Regions from separate parts of the Homo sapiens genome. Here regions 2, 3 and 4 are each linked to region 1. The links are contacts of gene promoters, found by promoter capture Hi-C in blood cells and fetal thymus (Javierre and others, 2016). All regions are on one chromosome and are shown on one strand. Each heading gives the region's core, a stretch centred on a gene start or on the middle of the fragment in contact. The rest is flanking DNA. Distances are from core to core; before and after follow the strand shown. Region 1 holds the start of TBC1D10B (TBC1 domain family member 10B). Region 2 holds the start of TBX6 (T-box transcription factor 6). Region 3 has its middle 19 kb from the start of PRR14. Region 4 holds the start of GDPD3 (glycerophosphodiester phosphodiesterase domain containing 3).

Region 1 (5,432 bases), core at 850-3,349:
GGCTCCTTGAAAGGACTATTTTATCCTTAGCACCTGGGGCCTGACACCTGGGGGCCCAGGAGATGCTGTAGGCTGACTGGCCCAGCAGGTCAAAGGGGCACAGGAACAACGGGCAGGATCCAGAGAGGGGGAAGGAAGAAGTCAGAGGCAATCACCCCCTACCTCGGGAGTGACTCAGGCCCCGGAGAGAACTAGGAAAGAGTCAGCCCGGCTGGGGAGATGAGGAAATGGGGAAGAGGCCTCTCCCACCCTTTACTTCAGTGCAGATACAAGACTGCCCTGTTTCACAGCGGGATCCTGACTGCACAGTCTCCCTTCCATCAGCCAGACTTCCCCACCTCTCTACTCCATCCCTGGGACCTAGGGCTATGGGGGAAGGGAGATGCCTGCACCCCTCCCAGGCTATCCACCCTAAGGGACCAAGGGTCTCTACCAGAACCCTCGCCCAACCAACCCTCCAGAATATCCGGCCTGTAGCTGGAGTTCCCCATCAAAGAGCAGGGATGACCTCAGGTATCATCTCATTCAATCCACTTTATAGAGGAAAAAACTGAGGCACGGAAATGGGGAAGCCACTAGCTCAAGGGCACACAACCCATCAAAGGCAAGGCTTAAACCCAGACCTCTTGACCCCTGGTCTGAAACTCCACTAACATGCCAATGTCACAGGCACCTCAGGATGCTCAAGACACGGCAGCTCGCGCTGATCACCCCGTGGATCCTCAGAGGAGGCTGGGCTGCCAGAGTCTGGGCAAAGTGTATCGTTTTCGTTTCGCCCTCCCCCAACCTTTGCTTCCCCGAGGCGGTCCCGCTGGGTGCCCACTGGTACTCACAGGCTGCCCGAGTACTGGCTGCCCCCAAGGAAGCCATACTTGTCCGTCTTGCGCAGGGCCAGCCCGTTTATCTCTGAATCTGAGCCCATGGAGCTCACATCATCCGCCAAGGACTCCAAGGTCCCAGACATGAGGCTCACGGAGTCCAAGTAACTCAGCGTGTCCGGGGCCTGCCCTCGAGGCCCAGAGATGCCAGGTCCCAGGCTGGACGTGGAGCCCAGGTCTTGAGAGTTTTCAGCAGGCTCCGGAGCTGGGGTCACGGTCACGACAGCTACCGGAGCCTCACAAGTCCCAGAGGGGCCTGTGCCAGGGCCTGAGGGGTCCTCAGGAGCCTGTCCTGCTGATGCTGATGTTGCTGCGGCAGCTCCATGCCCACCTGTCACTTGTCCTGATGCACTCCGTGCAGTCACTCCTGAGGCCACTGTGGTTCCCGGCTTGGGGGCAAGCGGGGGTTTGGCGGTCAGGGCACCAGGAGCCGTTCTGGAAGGGGTCCTGGTAGGGGTCCCGGTGGGGGTCCCTGGTCCTGGGGCGGGTGAGGGTCGAGCCTCCTCTGTCTTCGGCGAGTCTGCCCCTGCGGCCAGAGCCCTCGATGTCTCAACTCCAGCCACTGCCGCGGGCTCTGGGGATTCCGGGCCGGAGGGGAGCTGCGGCTTTGGGGCTTCGGGCGAGGCCTCCAGGGTCAGCACCACCACCGTGCTGCCCGTGACAGCCGGGGCTGGGGCCGGGGCTGGGGCCGGGGCCGGAGCAGAGGTCTCGGCCGACCCCGGGACCCAGGCGGGCCGCGCCTCCCCGGGGGCCACCAGGGTGACGGGGGCCGAAGTGGCCGTAGTCACTGGAGGTCCCGGAGCCACCACCACGACGGGCCCGGCCCGGGAACCCCGGGGCGGCGGCGAGGGGGCCGCGGGGGCGCCATGACGGCGCGGCGGGGCCACCAGGGGCGCCGTGCCCGTCTCCATGGCCGCGGGCCGCCCCTCACATCCCCCCGCCGGGGAGGCCGCAGAAGGCGCCGCCCCTCGGGCCTCCCGGCGAGGCCAGCCGAGAAAGGGGAGAGGGCGAAGGGCGCGGCTCGGCGCGCGCCGGGGGCGGAGCGGCCGCTGGGCGCGCAGAGGCGGGGCAGGGGTCGGGGGGCGCCGCGCGCCGGGGTCTCTCTCGAGCCCTCTCACCCCCTCGCGCGCTCTCGCCACCGCCCCCTCCCTCCTGCTTGGGGGCGAGCCGCCGACCTCGCGCCTGCGCACACGCCGCAGAGCCGGCTCCGCGCCAGCGTCTCGGCGTTCCACGCCTGCGCGCGGACTGGCTCATCGCGCTCCTTTTTTCTCCCGCCTAGTCAGAGGATTTGGACGAATAGTGGGAGAGAGAGAACTGGGCTTCTGCCAATCGTTGGAATCGTGGGCGGGGCTGGAGGCGAAAAAGGGGTGGGTCATCTGGAAAGAGGAAACGGAGAAAGCTAGGGCTGTAAGACCAATCAGAGGACGAGGAAAGGCAGGGGGCGATGGGACGAAAGAAATAACCAATAGAAACGCAGGGGTCTGAACCTCCTGGCCAATGAATATGACTGAAGGGTGAATGACCGCGGAAGGGCGGAGGAGGAGGCAGGGCTGTGCGAGTAAGAGGTGGGGCCTGGAGGCTTCTTAACCAATAGGAATGGTAAAAAGGGAGCCAATGAAAAGGGGAGCAGGTGGAGGTCAAATTGACAGGCAGTGATGTCTATTTAGGCGGTGACAGACAGCATCCGCAGTCAATAGGAAGAGCTGAAGAATTCTTTAGGTCTCCCAAAATGGTCAGTAAGGAATGACAGCTGGGAGGAGGCGGGGCAAGCTAGAGATTAATTCGCCCCGTCAGCCAATGATCGTGTTCTCCCACTTTGGCCACAGGACAGGAAAATAGATAGCTGTCTCAGCCAATGGGAGCATCCAAAGGGCAAAGATGCTGCCAGCAGGCGGTGCCAGCCCAGGGATAGTCGGTGACAACCGGAGACAAGCCTTATGGGAGGGTGACAGCTGGGGACAGCACGGAGAAGGGGCGGGGGCATTAGTGCAGCCCTCAACCAATGAGTGCCGCGCTGCCCCCTCTCGAGTCCTTTCCGGTCCCCTATTCTTCGTTCAGCTCCTGAGCCCCACACTCTGGTGGTCTGTGGGACCCTGAGCCCCACCACAGATCCAGTGCCCTGACCCAGTACTCTCATCCTTTACTCTATAATTCTCCGATCTCGGCCCCCAACTAACCCCAACACTCCAGGCCCAGGTGGCAATAGCCAGAGCCCCCAGATCCTATAAGCAACCCATATCTCTGCTTCACCCATTTCCTGCGGGAATCCCAACCTCCAAGTCCCTCTCCTCAGTTCCCATCTATCTGAGCTCCTCCCCAGAACCCAGGCTCCAGTTCCTCAGACCTTATCCCTCTGAGTACCCCCTCCATTTCTTCTAGTGGGGATCTCAAACCCCAAATCCATGAATCCCTAATACCATGAACTCCCCATATGTGTGTTACTATTCTTTTGGGGATCCAAGGCCCCAGTCCCGTCAACCCCTCTCCCCTCACTGCCACATCCCTCTGTGCTCCTCATGTTCCACTGAGAATCCCGACCTCAATCTCATGAGCGCTCCAGGTTGTCCTTAGATCACAAGCATAAAGACCTGACGTTATGAGCTCCAACCTTCCAACTTCTAAACGCCCTCTTCTTTCTCTGACCCCCATATTCTGATTTCCATATAGCATCCACCATCCTGGAATTCCAGTGAGACCTAGCTCCCGACTTCTCAGCTCCTCCTTGGTTTCTGAGTCCTCTAAGGTCCCTCACTCCCAACTCAGCCCCATGTCCTGTCAATTCCCACTCAGTGTCTGATCTCCTTCTCCTCACCTTTCCCATCTCCCGTTTGACCCAAGCTTCCTGAGCTCTCCTCCCATTCCCCTTTTTGGAGTCCTCCTCCTCTCCCAGAACCCAGTAATAAGTGGGCTCCTCCCTGGCCTGGACCCCCGTGGTAACCCTATAAGGCGAGGCAGCTGCTGTCTGAGGCAGGGAGGGGCTGGTGTGGGAGGCTAAGGGCAGCTGCTAAGTTTAGGGTGGCTCCTTCTCTCTTCTTAGAGACAACAGGTGGCTGGGGCCTCAGTGCCCAGAAAAGAAAATGTCTTAGAGGTATCGGCATGGGCCTGGAGGAGGGGGGACAGGGCAGGGGGAGGCATCTTCCTCAGGACATCGGGTCCTAGAGGGAGCGGGAGGAGAAGGAGATGGTTGTCCTTGCCAACTTGGGGCTTCCTCAGCCACTATTTTTCCAGACTTCTGCTGCATGGAGGGGACTGGGTCACTGAGGCCCAGAGGGAGAAGAGAGGGTACATCAAAGTCACACAATCAGCCAAGCTGGCTCTTGGCCAGAATAAAGTGAGCTGCCACTGGCTATCAAGGCACCTCACAGAAAGTGACCAGCTGGCTGTCCTTTTAGGGTCTTTTCCTCCCCTCTTGAGTTCCAGCCTCCACACCAGTACCCAGAGAAAATATTCTAGACTCATACTAGATCACATCCTTCTTCTGCATGAAACCTTTCCAAGGTTCCCCAGGGTCTCCGTCCTGTGCCTGGCAAAGGCCCCTCAGGGGCTGGTCACCAGCCCCATCACAATTCTGGCCACCTGAACACTTCTGATCTTCCGCTCTCCAGGCCTTTGCTCAGGCCATGCCCTCCGCCCAGCACATCTGCTCCTCCACCTGCACCTGACTCCCTGGCCCTCGTGAAGCCACTCCCATACTCCTAGACAGGGCTGCTGCGCCCTCCACTTCTGGGCTCCTGACCAGCTCTGGTATGTCAGTTTCTGCATTCATTCCTGTCTCTATTAGTTATAAGGCAAGTTCTGTGGGATGGGAACTACATCTCCCTTTTACAGAGGGGAAACCAAGGCCCAGCACAAAACCTGAGACCACAAAGCATCTTGCCTCAAAAAATCCCTCTTGGCTCGGCGCGGTGGCTCATGCCTGTAATCCCAGCACTTTGAGCACTTTGGGAGGTCGAGACGGGTGGATCATCTGAAGTCGGAATTCAAGACCAGCCTGGCCAACATGGTGAAACGCCATCTCTACTAAAAATACAAAAAATTAGATGCCGGGCACGGTGGCTCACGCCTGTAATCCCAGCACTTTGGGAGGCCGAGGCAGGCAGATCACAAGGTCAGGAGATCGAGATCATCCTGGCTAACGCGGGGAAACCCCGTCTCTACTAAAAATACAAAAAAATTAGGCGGGCGTGGTGACACGCGCCTGTAGTCCCAGCTACTCGGGAGGCTGAAGCAGGAGAATCACTTGAACCCGGGAGGCGGAGGTTACAGTGAGCCAAGATCACGCCACTGCACTCCAGCCCGGATAACAAAACGAGACTTCATCTCAAAAAAAAAAAAAAAAAGTAGCTGGGCATGGTGGCGGGTGCCTGGAATCCCAGCTACTCAGGAGGCTGAGGCAGAAGTATCGCTTGAACCCAGAAGGCGGAGGTTGCAGTAAGCCGAGATCGCACCATTGCACTCCCACCTGGGTGACAAGAGCAAGACTCCATCTCAAAAAAAAAAAAAAAGAAAGAAAAGAAAAAAAAATTCCCCTCTCCTTGAAGGGAGGTAGGAGAC
Region 2 (5,432 bases), core at 1,958-4,457, 280 kb before region 1:
GGAGATGAATGTGGTCTCGGGGAAGCGGAAGGAGGCCATGCCCCCCCAGTGCTGGCTGCAGAGCTGGGCTGCCCGAACTAGGTGTATGCGGGGTTGGTACTTGTGCATGGAGTGCAGGATCAGCTGGGAGGGAGGAAATGGGAGTGATTCCCTGCCCTGCGCCTCACCCTTGGCCTCCCTTCCAGCACCCCCCAACCCTATCCTGGAGTCCCAGCCTGGGCCTCACGTGGCCGTGGGGGTCCAGCGTGCTGTTGGTGAGCTTGACACGATGGAAAGACACAGGCTGCCGCATCCAATGTGCACCAGTGGCAGGAGAGTCGGGGTGAATGTAGACACGGTCAGGCAGGCGGGGCTCTGCCTTGCCGCTGGGCTCCCAGCGCCGGCCCTGCCAGCGGTAGCGAGCCCCATCCACCGGAATCACATCCAGAAGAAACAAGTAGCGGGCCTCGGGGTCCAGGCCAGTGACTGACACTCGGCAGGCAGGGAACATGCGCCTGTGCAAGGGAGGGGACAGGAGAGGCCTGGAGCTACCCACTGGCCAGGGGTGGGCCCAGCACCAGTAACGGGACATAACAACGGGCTCCCCAGAGCTGTCAGAGAAACATCAAAGGAGGTGGAATTAGAACCCAGAGGGCAGGCTGGAGGCTGTGGCTCACACCTCTAATCCCTATACTTTGGGAGGCCAAGGTGGGAGGATCTCTTGAGTCAGGAATTCAAGACCAGCCTGGGCAACATAGAAAGACCCCATCTCTACAAAAAAATTAAAAAATTAGCCAGGCATGGTGGTGCACACTGATAGTCCCAGTTACTACAGAGGCTGAGGCGGGAGGGTCACTTGAGCCTGGGAAGTCAAGACTACAGTGAGCCACAATTGCACCACTGCACTCCAGCCTGGGCAACAGGGCAAGACACTGTCTCTGAAAAATGAAAAAGGGCCAGGCGCAGTGGCTCATGCCTGTAATCTCAGCACTTTAGGAAGCCGAGGTGGAAGGATCATGAGGTCAGAAGTTTGAGACCAGCCTGGCCAATATGGTGAAACACCGTCTCTACTAAAACTACAAAAATTAGCCGGGTGTGGTGGTGTGTGCCTATAGTCCCAGCTACTCGGGAGGCTGAGGCAGGAGAATCGCTTGAATCCAGGAAGCAGAGGTTGCGGTGAGCTGACGAGATCGTGCCACTACACTCTAGCCTGGGCAACAGAGCGAGACTCCATCTCAAAAAAAAAAAAAAAAAAAAAAAGAAGCCAGAGGGCGGAATCTTAGAGCTGGAAGGTTTTCTTGTCTCATTTTACATTTGGGGAAACAGGACAGACGGGTTAAGTGATCTGTCACACAGCAGGTTAGGAACAGAGCCATGACTCCTACCCCTCAAAGCCTATTTGCAGAAGCAGGGGTGACTAACTTTCTTGCTAGGAGCTTCCTGTCCCCACCCTCCTCTCCTCCCCTGATCTCCAGCACCAGAATCTGCAGCTCTTAGATGAATTTGCTTTAGAAAAAATATACCCTGCCTGCAGTAGGGCCGAGGACTTTCCATGCTAGGGCTTGAGTTCCTGCCCCAGCTAAAGACCTCATCTAAGGTCAAACACTGACCGTGTCCCTGCCTCTAGGGTGACCCTGGACCTAGTCATATACTGACTCCTATTCGAGTTGCATACTGATCCCGAATCCTGGCCAGATTTCCCTGATGCTGGTCAATGGGCTGGCCCTTGACCCCCTGTCCTTGTCTGGATGCTGGTCTAAGCCACACACTAACCTATAACCCAGAGGGACTTCCTGACCCTGCCCCAGACTGACCCATGACCCTTGCCATAGATTGGTCCCTAAACTCAGCCACAGACTCCACAGACTGGCCCTTAACCCTTGTCACAGAGTGACTCCTGATTCCTGCCACAGAGTAACCCTTGCCCCAGGCCATAGTCAGATTCTAGGCCTAGGCAGAGCTCTAGCCCCTCGGGAACCACCCAGTCCTAGCCCCCTCCCCAGGGACTCTGCCTTTCCCAAGAGACCCCCACCAGAAACACGGACCCTGGCCAGCCCCTCACCTCCCAGCTTTGGTGATGATCATTTCTGTTCCCACAGAGCTGAACTCCTTCCATAGCTCCCGGTTCTCCAGGCTCAGGCTGACCCCCGGGAGGGAATGGAGGGCCTCTGGAGCTGATGGGGCCGGCTCAGTGCCCATGGCAGGGGGCAGAAGGGGCAGAGGTGGGTGCGCGGCCAGGGTGCGGGGAGCAGCCTCCATCCCGGAGAGGAAGCAATCCAGTTTAGGGGTGTCCAGTTCTGGAAGCCGGGGAAGAATGAGGAGCCAGCCGAGGGCCACAGCCCCCCTATTCTCCTACCCAGGAGCTGGTCCCAACGCTCACCGGGGTAGCGGTAGCCCTCCGCTAGGGCGGGTGGGAAGCTGGAGTCGGCCCCAGGTTGGGCGGGCCCCAGGCGGTAGCCGGCCCCCAGGGACGGGTACAATTCTCGTGGATGGTACATGTTGTAGTTCCGTCTGGCCTCAGGTCTCGCTGCTTAGGGCCCCCGGTGCTGCGAGATGCCCCCTTTATAGCTCACAGCTCAGCCCCTTCCAGATCCAGGATCACAGCCCCTCCCCTCTTTGGGGCCCTGGAGTTGGGCTGGGGTGGAGACCCCTGGGGCCTCGAAGGGGTCCGAGAGGGGGTCGGATACCTGGGTACGGTCCCCTCCTCCCCTCCCTCCCCACCCCGGGAGGCTTCATTAGCCTCGACCCCCTGCCCCCTCATTACATAATTAACTCCTCGGCTTGATTGATCCCCAGGGCTCGGACAGGGACGCAGTTTGGCGCTTCCGGCCAGCTGGTCCCCGTTCCCACGGTGGGGAGCCCCGGCTAGGGATAAGCTGGGGGGCGGGGCCTGGAACCTGGACGGAGCCAAGAGTCCCGGGACACACCTTGGCGCCCCAGACCTTCTGGCAGGTGACCGCCCTCCGCCCCCCTTCACTTGGAGGCCGGGCCCTGGAGGGAAGCAGCGTGAACAGAGGGAAAGTGCAGGCTAGAGGGACGCGGCCTGAGCTGATTTCACAGGGCACTCGGGGCCGCGAGGAGGCCGCAGCCCAGTCCCGAGCACCGTAGTCCTCCCTGGTCCCCATGCTAAAAAAACCTCCATCCCGAGCCAAGCCTCCAAAGTTCGAAGGCGCTCACAGTCCGACAGCTTCTGACGCCTCGCGCCAGGGTTTCCCGAAGGTCCCGCGCTGGGGAACCCTCGGAACTACACTTCCCGGCAGGCTCAGCGCTGAGGCGCGCCCGAAGGAGCCGGACGGACCACGCGGGGGCCGCTGGGAGTTGCAGTCCGACCGCGAGGGGGCTGCGAGGCCGGCGGCGCGGTTGCCTCCCTGGGACGCTGCCCCTAGGCGGCGGCCAAACGCTGCAGATGAGCAGACGCAGATCAGCCGAGGTCACGGCGTAGGCAGCCAGAGTGGGCTCAGGACCTCCGCCAGCAGTGAAACCGTCCCGGTTCCCGGAGACCCAGCTTGGACGGCTGTGCCTACCCCATGCCCCGCCGGGGCTCAGAACCGCACAGGTCTATAGGGGCGGAAATCTCCGCTTGAGCTCCCCCTTCCCGGATTACACGCGAGCCTGAGCTGTCTCCACTCCATTGTTTTATTATGTACAAACGCTACAGAACGAGGGGGACAGACACGCGTGGGGTAAGAAGGGCCTGGTGGGAGGAGTTCACAGAGCAGACGGTGCACTGGGACCAGGAGAGCAGAACACAGGCCATAACTATAGGGCAGGTGGGGCAGGAACGGGTTAAAAACGAGATCCAAGCCAGCCAGATCGCAGGAGGTGCGGGGGCGTCGTCCCCCTTCTGTTCTCCCCCCAAGGTCACAGTGCATGCAATAAAATATATATACAGGAGCTAGATCCGTCCTCTGCAGGGGCTCTGAGGGTCCAGAGCTCCCTTCGGGTGGCGGGAAGCCAGTGGCGCTCCCTGGCGGCCAGGCCGGGCTGGAGCCACATGCGTCGGGGGAGCGGGGGTCAGTCCCAGCCGTTGTCTTTGATCATGTGGTTGAGTTCAATGATGTACTTCCCCTCTTTGTACTTCTGGCTGCTCTCAAAGGCCTGTTCCTGAAAGGAGGGGCGGGACCGTCATCCCCGGAGCAACAGTCTCACCACAAGGCACTGGGGTTGGGAAGTGGACATGAGTGGCCCCATTTTACATATGAGGAAACTGTGGCCCAGAGGGGCAGGGCCGTATTTCTCACAAACACAGAGTAGAATAGAACTCCCTGACTCAAAGGTACTTTTTTAAGTACTAATGATGGCTCCAACAGAGAAGATAGGGAAGTGGCTAAAAGATTTCACAGTTCAGGGTTTGCAAACTGGTAGCTTCATGGCCATTTTGGCCTACAACATGTATTATGTTTGGACAGCAGACAGTTTAATAAAAATAACTTTAAAGTATTAAAATATAAGTAGGCCTTGCTCACTCCAGTTTGCCCAGCCTGCCCCCAACTCCCAACCCTGCCAATCTATGCTACCCTTTACACATCTACAGTATCTGCTTGGCCTTGCAGGCACTTGAGGTTTTTTTGTTTGTTTGGTTTTGAGAGGGAGTCTTGCTCTGTCGCCCAGGCTGGAAGTGCAACGGCGCGATATCGGCTCACTGCAACCTCCGCTTCCCGGGTTCAAGTGATTCTGCTGCCTTGGCCCCGAGTAGCTGGGATTACAGGCGCCCACCACCACGCCGAGCTAATTTTTGTATTTTTAGTAGAGATGGGGTTTCACCATGTTAGTCAGGCTGTTCTCGAACTCCTGACCTCAGGTGATCCACCTGCCTCAGACTCCCAAAAGTGCTGGGATTACAGGCGTGAGCCACCACACCCAGCCTGGCACTTGAGTTTTTGACCTCTTGTTTAGGCCAGCTCTTTATTAATTATTATTATTTTTGAAACGGAGTCTCGCTCTGTCTCCGCTCACTGCAAGGCTCTGCCTCCTGGGTTCACGCAATTCTCCTGCCTCAACCTCATGAGTAGCTGGGACTAGAGGCGCCCGCCACCACACCCAGCTGATTTTTTTTTTTTTTTTTTGTATTTTTGGTAGAGATGGGGTTTCACCGTGTTAGCCAGGATGGTCTCAATCTCCTGACCTTGTGATCCACCCGCCTCGGCCTCCCAAAGTGCTGGGATTACAGGTGTGAGCCACTGTGCCTGGCCGGCCAGCTCTTTATTTGGTAGAGGTCCAGAGTGGCCAAGCCACCTGTCCAGAGACACACAGCCAATCTGTGGCAGGGTCAGCAGCGAGCTCAGGTCAGGGCTGGCTGGCTGGCTCTGCCTGGGACATCCACCTCACAGAGGCACCACAGTTCCAAGCGACGCCTGAAGAATCCTGTCCCTTGCAGTGTCCCAAGAGCATCTTCCTGAGCATCTAATCTGATCCCTGTAACAATCCTGGGTGCTAGGCAGTGGCTTTATCTT
Region 3 (5,432 bases), core at 2,079-4,578, 260 kb after region 1:
ACAAGAAGGCTGCTTCCTAGTATGTTCTGCTATCTCTAAGCAGTGAGACACACTACAGTATACATTCTTGGAGAAGCCTTGAAGGTTGATGATCATGTTCTTGGGATGCAGCGGCCGTGGTGACCAACATAATAAGCCTCAGCATTCGCATTGTAATTGAGCTCATTCAAGCAAAGCTATCTTCAGTAGGGACTGTCCCGTCTAGAGAGCATGCACATTTTCATTTTACCCGTCCTCAAACTGATCCTTTCCTCATTATAATAGTAAAAACACACCCCTGGGTGGAGATTTAAGATGCTGAATGACGAGGAATGAACAAGCATGTACAGCTACTGTGCATGTGCACCCAGAGGACCACCCAGAACAAGCTTACTAGTGACACCTCTTCCCATCCCCTTATGAATAATCGTGTAAGACTCCCATAAAGGGACTCTTCCTAGTGTCAGTCTTTGCTGTCTCATCCTTACCAGCAGCCCGCCCAGAATCCTCACGCTCTCAGGATGTCCTGTCTATTCTGCACCTAACTTTTTTTTTTCTTTGAGACAGAGTCTCGCTCTGTCACCCAGGCTGGAGTGCAGAGATGCGATCTCACCTCACTACAACCTCCGCATCCCGGGCTCAAGCAATCCTCCCACCTCAGCCTCCCGAGTATCTGGGACTACAGGTGTGTGCCACCACACACAGCTAATTTTTCTATTCTTAGTAGAAACGGGTTGCCCAGGCTGTGGCATCTAACTTACAAAATATTTTTTCTTTTGCAATAAATTACTATATGCTACACTTTTTTTGTTGTGTCTCTTGTCTAAATTCTTTTAAACCAAGAAGAACAGATATCACAACAGCCATCAATAGAAGTACAGTCAGCTTCAGTGTTCCATTCCTTGGCTATTAGGGTATCTCCCATTTCCATCACTCTCTCAGGCTGATTCATTTAGACTTCTAGAAGATATTACCCTCAATCTGGATAAAAAAACTGAGATCCCAACTCGTGCTACTGTGTGTGTGTGTGTGCGTGCATGTGTGTGTGTGAGAGAGAGAGACAGAGACAGACACAGGGTCTCACTCCATCGCTAGGCTGCAGTGTAGTGGTGCAATCACAGTTCACTGCAGCCTCGACTTCCTAGGGTCAAGTGATCCTCCCACCTCAGCCTACCAAGGAGCTAGGACTACAGGCATGCACCACCATGCCCGGCTAATTTTTGCATTTTTTGTAGGGACCTGGTTTCATCATGTTGCCCAGGCTGGTCTCGAACTTCAGGGCTCAAGTGATCCTCCTGCCTCAGCCTCCCAATCCCTGGGATTAAGGCATGAGCCACCGTGCCCGGCCCATTCTAATCTTTTTAAATGACTGGCACAGGAAACACTGATCTTCACCTTGGAGGGATTCCAGGCATGGACTGACCTTCACAACTCTCCCACTCCAACCAAAAGCAATGTACCTAAAGCTTCAAACACTTAAAGTCATCTTTGGGCCCCTTTCCAAAGAGCTTATGTTTCCTTGAGAATTCCCATTTACAAAGCAAACTTAACCTCTGCTCCTCACTGGCAAGAGAGCCTTTCTGCTTTAATTTCCAAGGATAATAATTTCTCCCTCTTAGGGTTGTCACGAAGATTAAGTGTGATAATTAAAGGGACCCTCTTTAAAAAGAATGTGGTACAAGACCTGAGTTCAGTTATATGCTAAACAAAATATAGCTTTCCTCCCTACCTGTACTTTGCAGCCCTCTCTCTCTGTATCATTCACAGGGAAAGGGGTGAGTGAAGAAAAGATTTTAGTTGTGTTACATTTATTTATTTATTTATTTATTTATTTATTTATTTATTTAGAGGCAGAATCTCACTCTGTCGCCCCGGCTGGAGTGCAGTGGTGGGATCTCGGCTCACTGCAACCTCCGCTTCCCAGCTTCAAGTGATTCTCCTGTCTCAGCTTCCTGAGTAGCTGGGACTACAGGTGCATGCCAACACGCCCAGCTACTTTTTGTATTTTTAGTAGAGATGGAGTTTCGCCATGTTGGTCAGGCTGGTCTCGAACTCCTGACATCAGGTGATCTGCCCATCTCGGCCTCCCAAAGTGCTGAGATTACAGGCGTGAGCCACCGTGCCTGGCCAGTTGTGTTACTTTTAGAAACCCATTGATATACAAATAAATAAACAAAAAAGAAGAAGGAAATAGAAACCCACTGTTATATTCCTCAAGCCTGGAAGAAGCCTGGTGCCACCTGGAATCTAAGAGAATGGAAATGCCTAGAAAAGGTACTGAAATTGCCCCAGACAGTTTCTGTAGTGGGAGATCTTTGCAAATGATAGGCCCTGAGAAGTCTGACTTGAGGCATACAAGGGTTCTCTTGTCTCAACAGGATCTTTTGGAACCTTCCTTCTCCTTGGGATCCCCAACTTCGGATACCACAGATCTCAGCTTTTTTTGTCCCATCCAAGAGACAAGGTGGTTGGCCAGGCATGGTAGCTCACACCTATAATCCCAGCACTCTGAGAAGCTGAGGCAGGCAGATCACAAGGTCAGGAGTTCGAGACCAGCCTGGCCAATATGGTGAAATCCCGTCTCTGCTAAAAATACAAAAATTAGCTAGGTGTGGTGGCAGGAGCCTATAGTCTCAACTACTTGGGAGGCTGACGCAGGAGAATCGCTTGAACCTGGGAGGCGGAGGTTGCAGTGAGCCGAGATCGCCCCATTGCATTCCAGCCTGGGCAACAGAGCAAGACTCTGTCTCAAAAAAAATTAAAAAAATTTAAAAGGTGGTTTGGACCTCTTAGATCCTGAGGGAGAAGAAATTAGGCAGAGCAGGTGTAGGAGACCCAGAGGAAGTCCCTGGTGGAAGAGGGGAACAACTCTGACAGGTCCTCAACTAGGAAGTTGGGGATACTTATCGAACTTTTTTTTCCTTCTTAAGAGCCAGGGTTTCACTCTGTTGCCCAGGCTGAAGTGCAATGGCATGATCATAGCTCTCTGTAACCTCAAATTCCTGGGCTCCAGCCATTCTCCTATCTTGGCTCCCCAAAGTGCAAGGATTACAGGCCCGAGCCAACACACCCAGCCAAAACTCTAAAATTTAAACCTTTATTTTAGCCTCAAGCAAGTATTCTGGACCTAGAGACACTGAATTGAAAGAAAACCCTCATTAGGAACTAGGCCTCATTATCTTGCCTTATGTATTATTTTTCTCTTGTAACAATATTGTGAGTATAATAATTATATTGTAATGTATTACTGTGTTAAAAGCATCAGTTTCTTAAATGCAAACACTAAAAATATATAGCTATTTTTGTATTCCTCTTTTGCTTTTGTTGTGTATGGACATGGGGTCTCACTGTGTCACTAGGCTGGGGTGCAATGGTGCAATCACAGCTCACTACAGCCTCAAACTCCTGGGCTCAAGAGATCCTCCCGCCTCAGCCACCTGAGGAGCTAGGACCACAGGCGCCCGCCACCATGCCCAGCTATTTTTTTTTTTTTTCATTTTTGTTTTGTTTTGTTTTGTTTTATTTTTTGAGATGGAGTCTCGCTCTGTCGCCTAGGCTGGAGTACAGTGGCGCAATTTCAGTTCACTGCAACTTCCACCTCCCAGGTTCAAGCGATTCTTCTGCCTCAGCCTGTGGGATTAGAGGCTCCCATGACCATGCCTAGCTAATTTTTGTATTTTTAGTAGAAACAGGGTTTCACCATGTTGGCCAGGCTGGTCTCCAACTCCTGGCCTCAAGTGATCTGCCTGCCTGAGCCTCCCAAAGTGCTGGGATTAGAGGCATGAGCCACCGTGCCCAGCCTCGTTTGGTTTTTTATTTTTTAAATGTTTGGTTTTTTTATTTTTTTATTTTTTTTGAGACAAAGTCTCGCTCTGTCGCCCGGGCTGGAGTGCAATGGCATGATCTCGGCTCACTGCAACCTCCACCTCCCGAGTTCAAGGGATTCTCCTGTCTCAGCCTCCCAAGTAGCTGGGATTACAGGCATCCACTGCCACGCTGGGCTAATTTTTTTGTATTTTTAGTAGAGAAAAGGTTTTTACCATGTTGGCCAGGCTGGTTTCAAACTCCTGACCTCAAGTGATCCGCCCGCCTTGGCCTCCCAAACTGCTGGGATTACAGGTGTGAGCCACCGCGCCCAGCAATATTTTATTTGCTTTTGTTTTTGTTTTTTTGAGACAGAGTTTCACTCTTGTTGCCCCAGCTGGAGTGCAATGGCACGATCTTGGCTGGCTGCAACCTCCACCTCCTGGGTTCAAGCGATTCTCCTGCCTCAGCCTCCTGAATCTCTGGTATTACAGGCGCCTGCCACCACGCCCAGCTAATTTTTGTTATTGTTAGTAGAGACGGGATTTCGCCATGTTGGCCAGGCTGGTCTCGAACTCCTGACTTCAGGTGATCCACCTGCCTTCACCTCCCAAAGTGCTGGGATTACAGGCGTGAGCTGCTGCGCCTGGTGTGTTTGAGTTTATACTGGGTAGGGAGTCATGGTTAACGCCTATAATCTCACCCAGAGTCTGAGATGGGAGGCTCCGTTGAGTCCTGGAGTTCGAAACCCCGTCACTACAAAAAAATATATATAAAGAAAAAAAAATTAAGCGGGCGCGGTGTGGCACCTGTGGTCCCAGCAACTCGGGAGGCTGAGGTGGGAGGATCACTTGAGCCAGGGAAGTCGAGGCTGCAGTGAGCCAAGATCACGCCGCTGCATTCTAGAATGGGCGACAGCCTAAAAAAAGTCAGCCTTAACAATAACAAAAAAGACAATGGCTAGGGCCCCTCCCAACCTTTCATGCCCTACCCGGAGCCCCTGCGCGGCCCTTACATTTAAAAGCCCCTTTGGGAGGCTGAGGTTGGCGGATCACTGGAAGTCAGGGGTTCAAGACCAGCCTGGCCAATATGGTGAAATCCCGTCTCTACTTAAAATACAAAAATTAGCCTGGCGTGGTGGCGGGAGCCTGTAATCGCAGTTACCCTGGAGGCTGAGGCAGGAGAATTGCTTGAACCCGAGAGACGGAAGTTGCACTGAGCCGAGATCGCGCCACTGCACTCCAGCCTGGGTGACAGGGCGAGACAACGTCTCAAAAAAAAAAAAAAAAAGCCCTAAAGGACCACTCTTGGATCTGATCCTGAGAAAGTCCCTTAGAAAACATGGCGACGCCAGCCTCACCACCTGTTTCCAAAAGCAGTGTGACGCCCTTCGCTCCCTTAGTCAAGCTAATCTTACTAAATAAGGAACAAGCTTCCCCTGAGGCTTGCCCTTCAGCGCACTGGCACTGCCCACCCGAACGGGCGTCACGGATCCTGGTCAGTCTCTAGGATCGCGCTCGCTGATAGGACGCTTCTGGTCGAACGTCCAAACAAGGTGTGCGGTGATTGGGCCGCGGAGGGCGGGGCGTTTGAACGGCGCGTGCGTGGGAGTTCCCCAGGCCGGCGTCATTAGGATCCTGGTGGGCGGT
Region 4 (5,432 bases), core at 1,472-3,971, 260 kb before region 1:
AGTCATGATCTGGCCACTGCATTCCAGCCCGAGCAAGACTGTCTCAAAAAAAAAAAAAAAATTGTAAAGCAAAGGGAGGGACTAGGCTTAAGTGCCAGCGAAGTATCCAAATTCCTGATCCTTTCCCCAGCTGTTACTTTGTTAACCCCTGCCTTCCTGCAGAACACTGACTTGGCCTTTTCCTGCTGAGGGTCTGAGACAGCCGTGCTATAATTAATGAACGAATGTCTCCCCAGCCAGACTGTAAGCTCACCAAGGACCTCTCCCCACCCTCACTGGTCTCATTTACACATTATAACTGCACCTGGGACAGAGTAGACATTCAATAAAATATGCTAGATGGCCTGAGATGGATAAATTACCTCTCTATCCTAAAACTCCACATATGCACAGAATTTCAGGGTGTTCACAGTTCCCTTAGTATTCATGAATGCTGGGTAAGAACCACTGTCCTTAAAAGACCTTGGGGGTTATCTCTGAGGGGAGCTGGGGAGCTGGGAAGATCTGGGCTCCTTCTCCACGGAGACCCTAAGCAGTGGGGAGTTTTTCTGAGGTCCGCCCCCCACTGGTACCTGTTGATGATGTTGGGCAGGAAGCAGAAGAAGAACTTCTCAGGGATTGGGATGAAGGGCAGCAGCCCCAGGTAGTAGGAAAGCAGCACCCAGAATCCTCGGCTTATTGTGAAGGACAGGGGCATCTCGGGGTTCTGGGGAGGCAAGGAGAGGCATGAGAATCTGTCTGCTCTGGGGAAGCAGAGAGGAGGCATGAGCTGCAGGGGAGCCGTGGTGGGCATTCCAGAGGCCCTACTACCTGCAGGATCCAAGTCACATCTTGGGGCTGGGTGTGGTGGCTCACGCCTGTAACCTCAGCAGTTTGGGAGGCTGAGGCAGGTGGATCACCTGAGATCAGGAGTTCAAGACCAGCCTGGCTAACATGGTAAAACCCCATCTCTACTAAAAATACAAAAATTAGCTGGGCGTGGTGGCGTGCACCTGTAATCCCAGCTACTCGGGAGGCTGAAGCATGAGAATCGCTTGAACCCAGGAGGCAGAGGTTGCAGTGAGCCGAGGTCGCACCACCGCACTCCAGCCTGGGCGACAGAGAGAGACTGTGTTTCAAAAAAGAAAAAAAACAAAAGTCACATCTTGGCTCTGTGTTCGAGGCCTGAGTTCACACCCTTTTCATTGCCACCGCCACGCCACTGGGAACTCTCCCAGACCCCTCTAGCTCGGGTCCCCATGCTGGGTGGGCTCCAGCTCTGGGGAGGAGGGGCCCCTGGAGGAGGAAGAGGACGGGGGAGGGGTGGGGGGACTCACGGCAGCCTTGCATTTCTTCATGACCGAGCTCTTCTCCGAGGCCCAGATGGTGATTTCATTACGGTCATAGCGTCTCACCAAGCCTGCTATCTGGGAGGAGGAGAAGGAGGTGAAGGGAGAGCCAGGCCTCTCTCACGCCCCCGGTGGCCGCCCTAGCCCTGCCTGCAGCACCACCTCACGGATGAGCTCTTCGTTCTTCCCTTTGATCTCTACGCTCATGGGTGTCCTTGGAAACCTCTGGAACAGGTCCTCCAGACGAACCATGCGCCGGTCTGACCCGTGAGCAAAGTGGCCTGGGGGTGGTGTGGGAAAAGGGGTCAGAGGGAAGCCAAGGCGGAGGTCCAAGGAAGGCAGGCATGGCCCAGGCAGGGCTCGAAGCCCTTGCTCTCACCTGGAGAGAAGTAAACCTCCAGCTTCTCCTTGTAGAGGGGCAGGTCCTGGGGAGGACAGGAAGGATGTCACTAGAGGCCCGCATTGGGCATGGTGACTCTCAGGGTGGGGGTTGGGGTGTCAGGGCAGGGCCCACCTCGAAGTCCAGGCTGCCCACATCCCTGTTTAGGCCCGACTGGCGGCACAGGTTCTCATCATGTGACACCACCACCACTCTGTCCCGTGTCAGCTGACAGTCGAGCTCCAGGAGGTCCGAGCGCTGGGCCATGGAGCTGTGGGGGTGAAGGTCAGCGGGGGGCAGGGGCAGGGGACTGGGATGAGGGGCATGGTGGCTGGGAGGTGGCCGGGAATGTGAGAGCGGAGTTCGTGGCGGGATGTGCAGGCCACCTCCAGGGGGCGCCAGTCACCCAGCTAGGAAGTGAATGGCGTCCCTTGCTGTGATGCAGTCCACGACCTGCACACCCTCACATGGCAGCCTGGGCAGGGGCAGATACACTCACTTCTCCATGGCCTCCATGGTGTTCTCCAGCAGCTCTCCAGATCCTGTGGGGGGCACTGGAGTGGGCCTCTGGGGCTTGGGGTCTAGGGGCCTGGCCCAACCTCATCACCCACATTCCCTCTCTGGGCTCCATCCTCCCTCTGGCCTCACCTCCCCAGCCAGCCCAGGCTGCGCCAGCATCTTCTTCCTCGTCCACACCCTGCCCTGCCACTTCGCTCTCCTTCTCTCTTGGTCCCTGCCCCGTTTCTAGCATGCCCCCTTGGACCTACCCCTCTGTGCTGTCCACTTTGGCACCTGTTCTCACCCCTACCCGGCTCACCTCCTCGGTGGGCCCCCAGGCGGATGCGGAAGGTGGGAGCCCTGGGCGTGTGCAGCAGATGAGGCCGGCGCAGGAAGAAGATGGAGAGCATGGCATAGCTGCCCAGGGCAGGGAGGGCATAGTACAGCAAAAGGCTCATGACCGTACTCCCACAGAAGCTCCTGCAGCCACACGCTCAGCCGTCCGCGGGACTGTGCTGCCTGCCTAGCCAGTGTGGGCCGGCTCTACTACTGGCCACTGCCACGCCCCTGGGACCTGCTGAGCCTGCCGCTGGGCTGGCTTGGAGCCAGGCTGCAGGGTTCGGCTGAAGCTGGGGTAGTGTCAGGAGGTGAGGCAAGTAGCCCTGGCTCTCATATCCCCAGGCCCTTCCCAGCCCCCAGCAGCCCCGTCCTGGGCTACATGAGGGGAGTAAAAACCACCCAGGACTGTCAGGACCTCTCCCTCTCACTGGTACTTGTAGCCAGCGCATCCAACATGCCTACCCCTTGCCATTTCAGAGGATCCAGGGGTGTGTAGGGTGCTCCTGAGTCACCCCGAATCACCCCCAGCCAGTTAGACAGGAAGCCATTAGCGAGAGGACAGGACAGTGACTAAGGGGAAAACTGACCCCCTTCTTTCTAGGAGTCTGGAGCTCTCCAGAGCCCCGTCCCCAGCCCTGGGCAGCTGGGAGTGAAGGGCACCAGGCCCCTGAAAGCCCAAGTCAAGTCTGTCCTCAGAGCCGCACGGGGCAGGGCGGGGGCGTCGCGAACACAGACAGAGCCAGGGTCAGCCATAGACACATCTCTATATTTATATATTAGACGGGTCAGGGAGGTGGCAGGGGCGCCGGGCTCTCCACGCCCCCCAGCTCCACTTCTGCTCACCACACACAGAAGCAGCGAGGGCACGCGAAGTGACAGCTTTGACAGGGAGGGGATTCGGCCCGGCCTGGCTCCTCAGGGATGCTAGCCCTTGAGACTAAGGAATGTTCCTTCAGGGAAACTAGGGTGGGGTTTGAATGAGATGAGGGGGGCAGGCATGGCCCTGAGTCCCTACTCAGCGCCCCCCACCCTCCACCTCTGCCCTTCAGCAGGTTGGGGCAGCCAGAACCCTTCCATTCCAGAACTGCCAGAGACTGGGACGCTGGGGAAGGTAAGGGCGCAGCAGCAGCAGCGGGAGATTGAACTGGGGCCACCTGAGGTCCCGAGGCCCCGTGGGGAGGGCGGGTGGGGAGGAGAAGGCCTTGGCCTGCCTGAAGCTGGAGGCCTCAGCAAAGGAGAGAGGTGGCCAGGCCCATGCTCCACCCCGGCCTGGGCTGCCAAGGTCCGGGCTGGGCACAGTGTCCATTTTCTAACAGTCTGGCGGGAGAGGGGCAGGCAGGAGGCAGGTCCTAAAGAGAGAAGCAGGCAGAAGAGGAGTCGTTAGCACCCCCCGGGCAGACCCACTGGAGCCCTGACCTCAACATCTCTCATTTCACCCTCACAGCTGGATAGGCTGGGTCTCAGTTTCCTTATCTGTAAATGGAGATAATAATAGTACCTAGCTTGAGGTACTGCTGTAAGATTAAAGGAATTAATACATGTAAACCTCTTAGAACAATGCTTAGGGCTTTATGCTTTCATTATTAGAACTGTCTCGGCCGGGCACAGTGGCTCACGCCTATAATCCCAGCACTTTGAGAAGCTGAGGTGGTGGATCGCTTGAGCCCAGGAGTTTGAGACTGGCCTGGGCAACATAGCAAGACCCCAGCTCCACAAAAAAAAAAAAAAAAAATTAGCCGGTTGCAATGGCTCGTCCAGCTAGCTGGGAGGATCCCTTGCACCCAGGAGTTTTGAGGCTGCAGTGAGCTATGATTGCACCACTGCATTCCAGCCTGGGTGACAGAGCGAGACACTGTCTCAAAAAAACAAAACCAAAAAAAAAGATAAATAGATTGACTCCGGAAACTGAGGCGCCGAGAGGTGAGGTGCCTTGCCCAATATCACACAGCACTTACTAAGTGGCACAGCTGGAGTTTGAGCCCAGGTGCGCATGCCTTCTTTCTATCAGGCCACACCTGGCTGAAGACAGGAAGAGACCGGAGGAGGCAAGGAGGCAGCGTGGGTGGGGGCAGGCCAGTGGGGTCCCCACAGCTATGTGAACTGCTGATCTGGCAGCAGGTGTGAGGAGGCCTGGCAATCTGGGTCAGGCTGGGCGCTGCTGGGCCCCTCCCAAAGCAATCATGGCCCCACCTGCTTCTGCCACACCCAGAGCTGAAGCTTGGCTCAGGTCCTCACCTGGGTGACAGAGGCCCTCAGTGACCTCTTGCCTCTTTGCCAGTTCTGTTCCTAGAAGGAGATTAGAATGGCTTGTGGGGCTGGAGGATGCAAGGTGTTGACAGGCAGAGACATTTGGGGCTGGAGGACTCGGTGGGCCACCAGTCTGGGCAGCCTTGGGCATTTTTTTTTTTTTTTTTGAGATGGAGTCTTGCTCTGTAGTCCAGGCTGGAGTGCAGTGGTGCGATCTCGGCTCACTGCAACCTCTGCCTCCTGGGTTCAAGCAATTCTCCTGCCTCAGCCTCCTGAGTAGCTGGGATTATAGGCATGTGCCACCACACCCAGCTCATTTTTGTATTCTTTACAGTAGAGACCGGGTTTCACCATGTTGGCCAGGCTGGTCTCAACTCTTGACCTTGTGATCCACCCACCTCGGCCTCCCAAAGTGCTGGGATTACAGGCATGAGCCACTGTGCCCAGCCCTTTTTTTTTTTTTTTTGAGAGAGTCTCACTGTTGCCCAGGCTGGAGTACAGTGGTGCAACCTCCGCCTCCCAGGTTCAAGCAGTCCTCCCACCACAGCCTCCTGAGTAGCTGGGACTAGAAGCGCATGCCTACGTGCCCGGCTAATTTTTGTATTTTTAGTAGAGACAGGGTTTCACCACGTTGGCCAGGC

The links. The method cuts DNA at HindIII sites, captures the fragments that hold promoters and counts their contacts. A CHiCAGO score of 5 or more calls a contact.
Region 2: the fragment with the promoter of TBX6 here is called in contact with the fragment with the promoter of TBC1D10B in region 1 in 14 of 17 cell types (naive CD8 T cells, non-activated CD4 T cells, neutrophils and 11 more); the score reaches 13.9 in naive CD8 T cells.
Region 3: a fragment that was not itself captured here is called in contact with the fragment with the promoter of TBC1D10B in region 1 in 17 of 17 cell types (megakaryocytes, M2 macrophages, erythroblasts and 14 more); the score reaches 21.3 in megakaryocytes.
Region 4: a contact is called between the fragment with the promoter of GDPD3 here and the fragment with the promoter of TBC1D10B in region 1, in 17 of 17 cell types (naive CD8 T cells, fetal thymus, activated CD4 T cells and 14 more). The highest score is 15.0, in naive CD8 T cells.

What each region holds. Positions count from the first base shown.
Region 1 is chr16:30,368,395-30,373,826 of GRCh38, forward strand. TBC1D10B (TBC1 domain family member 10B) reads right to left here and starts at 2,100. Exons shown (of 9, transcript NM_015527.4): 1 at 834-2,100. The coding sequence starts at 1,789. It also overlaps a transcript of MYL11 not described here. RefSeq lists silencers at 1,526-1,605, 1,696-1,985. The HindIII fragment of the contact is 4,560 bases long and covers 1-3,714 here.
Region 2 is chr16:30,088,717-30,094,148 of GRCh38, forward strand. It overlaps TBX6 (T-box transcription factor 6), which reads right to left and starts at 3,208. Exons shown (of 9, transcript NM_004608.4): 1 at 3,157-3,208; 2 at 2,360-2,525; 3 at 2,042-2,276; 4 at 227-494; 5 at 1-123. The coding sequence starts at 2,477. YPEL3 (yippee like 3) reads right to left here. Exons shown (of 4, transcript NM_031477.5): 4 at 3,598-4,083. The coding sequence ends at 3,994. RefSeq lists enhancers at 1,672-2,545, 3,678-3,867 and a silencer at 3,198-3,457. The HindIII fragment of the contact is 24,011 bases long and covers 1-5,432 here.
Region 3 is chr16:30,629,114-30,634,545 of GRCh38, forward strand. No RefSeq gene overlaps it. Among named protein-coding and RNA genes, the nearest start is that of PRR14, 19 kb to the right of the region's middle. RefSeq lists enhancers at 4,353-5,304, 5,305-5,432. The HindIII fragment of the contact is 3,770 bases long and covers 1,444-5,213 here.
Region 4 is chr16:30,110,816-30,116,247 of GRCh38, forward strand. It overlaps GDPD3 (glycerophosphodiester phosphodiesterase domain containing 3), which reads right to left and starts at 2,722. Exons shown (of 10, transcript NM_024307.3): 1 at 2,525-2,722; 2 at 2,207-2,249; 3 at 1,843-1,978; 4 at 1,708-1,753; 5 at 1,491-1,609; 6 at 1,317-1,406; 7 at 573-706. The coding sequence starts at 2,663. MAPK3 (mitogen-activated protein kinase 3) reads right to left here. Exons shown (of 9, transcript NM_002746.3): 9 at 3,290-3,893. RefSeq lists a silencer at 2,693-2,987. The HindIII fragment of the contact is 12,096 bases long and covers 1-4,759 here.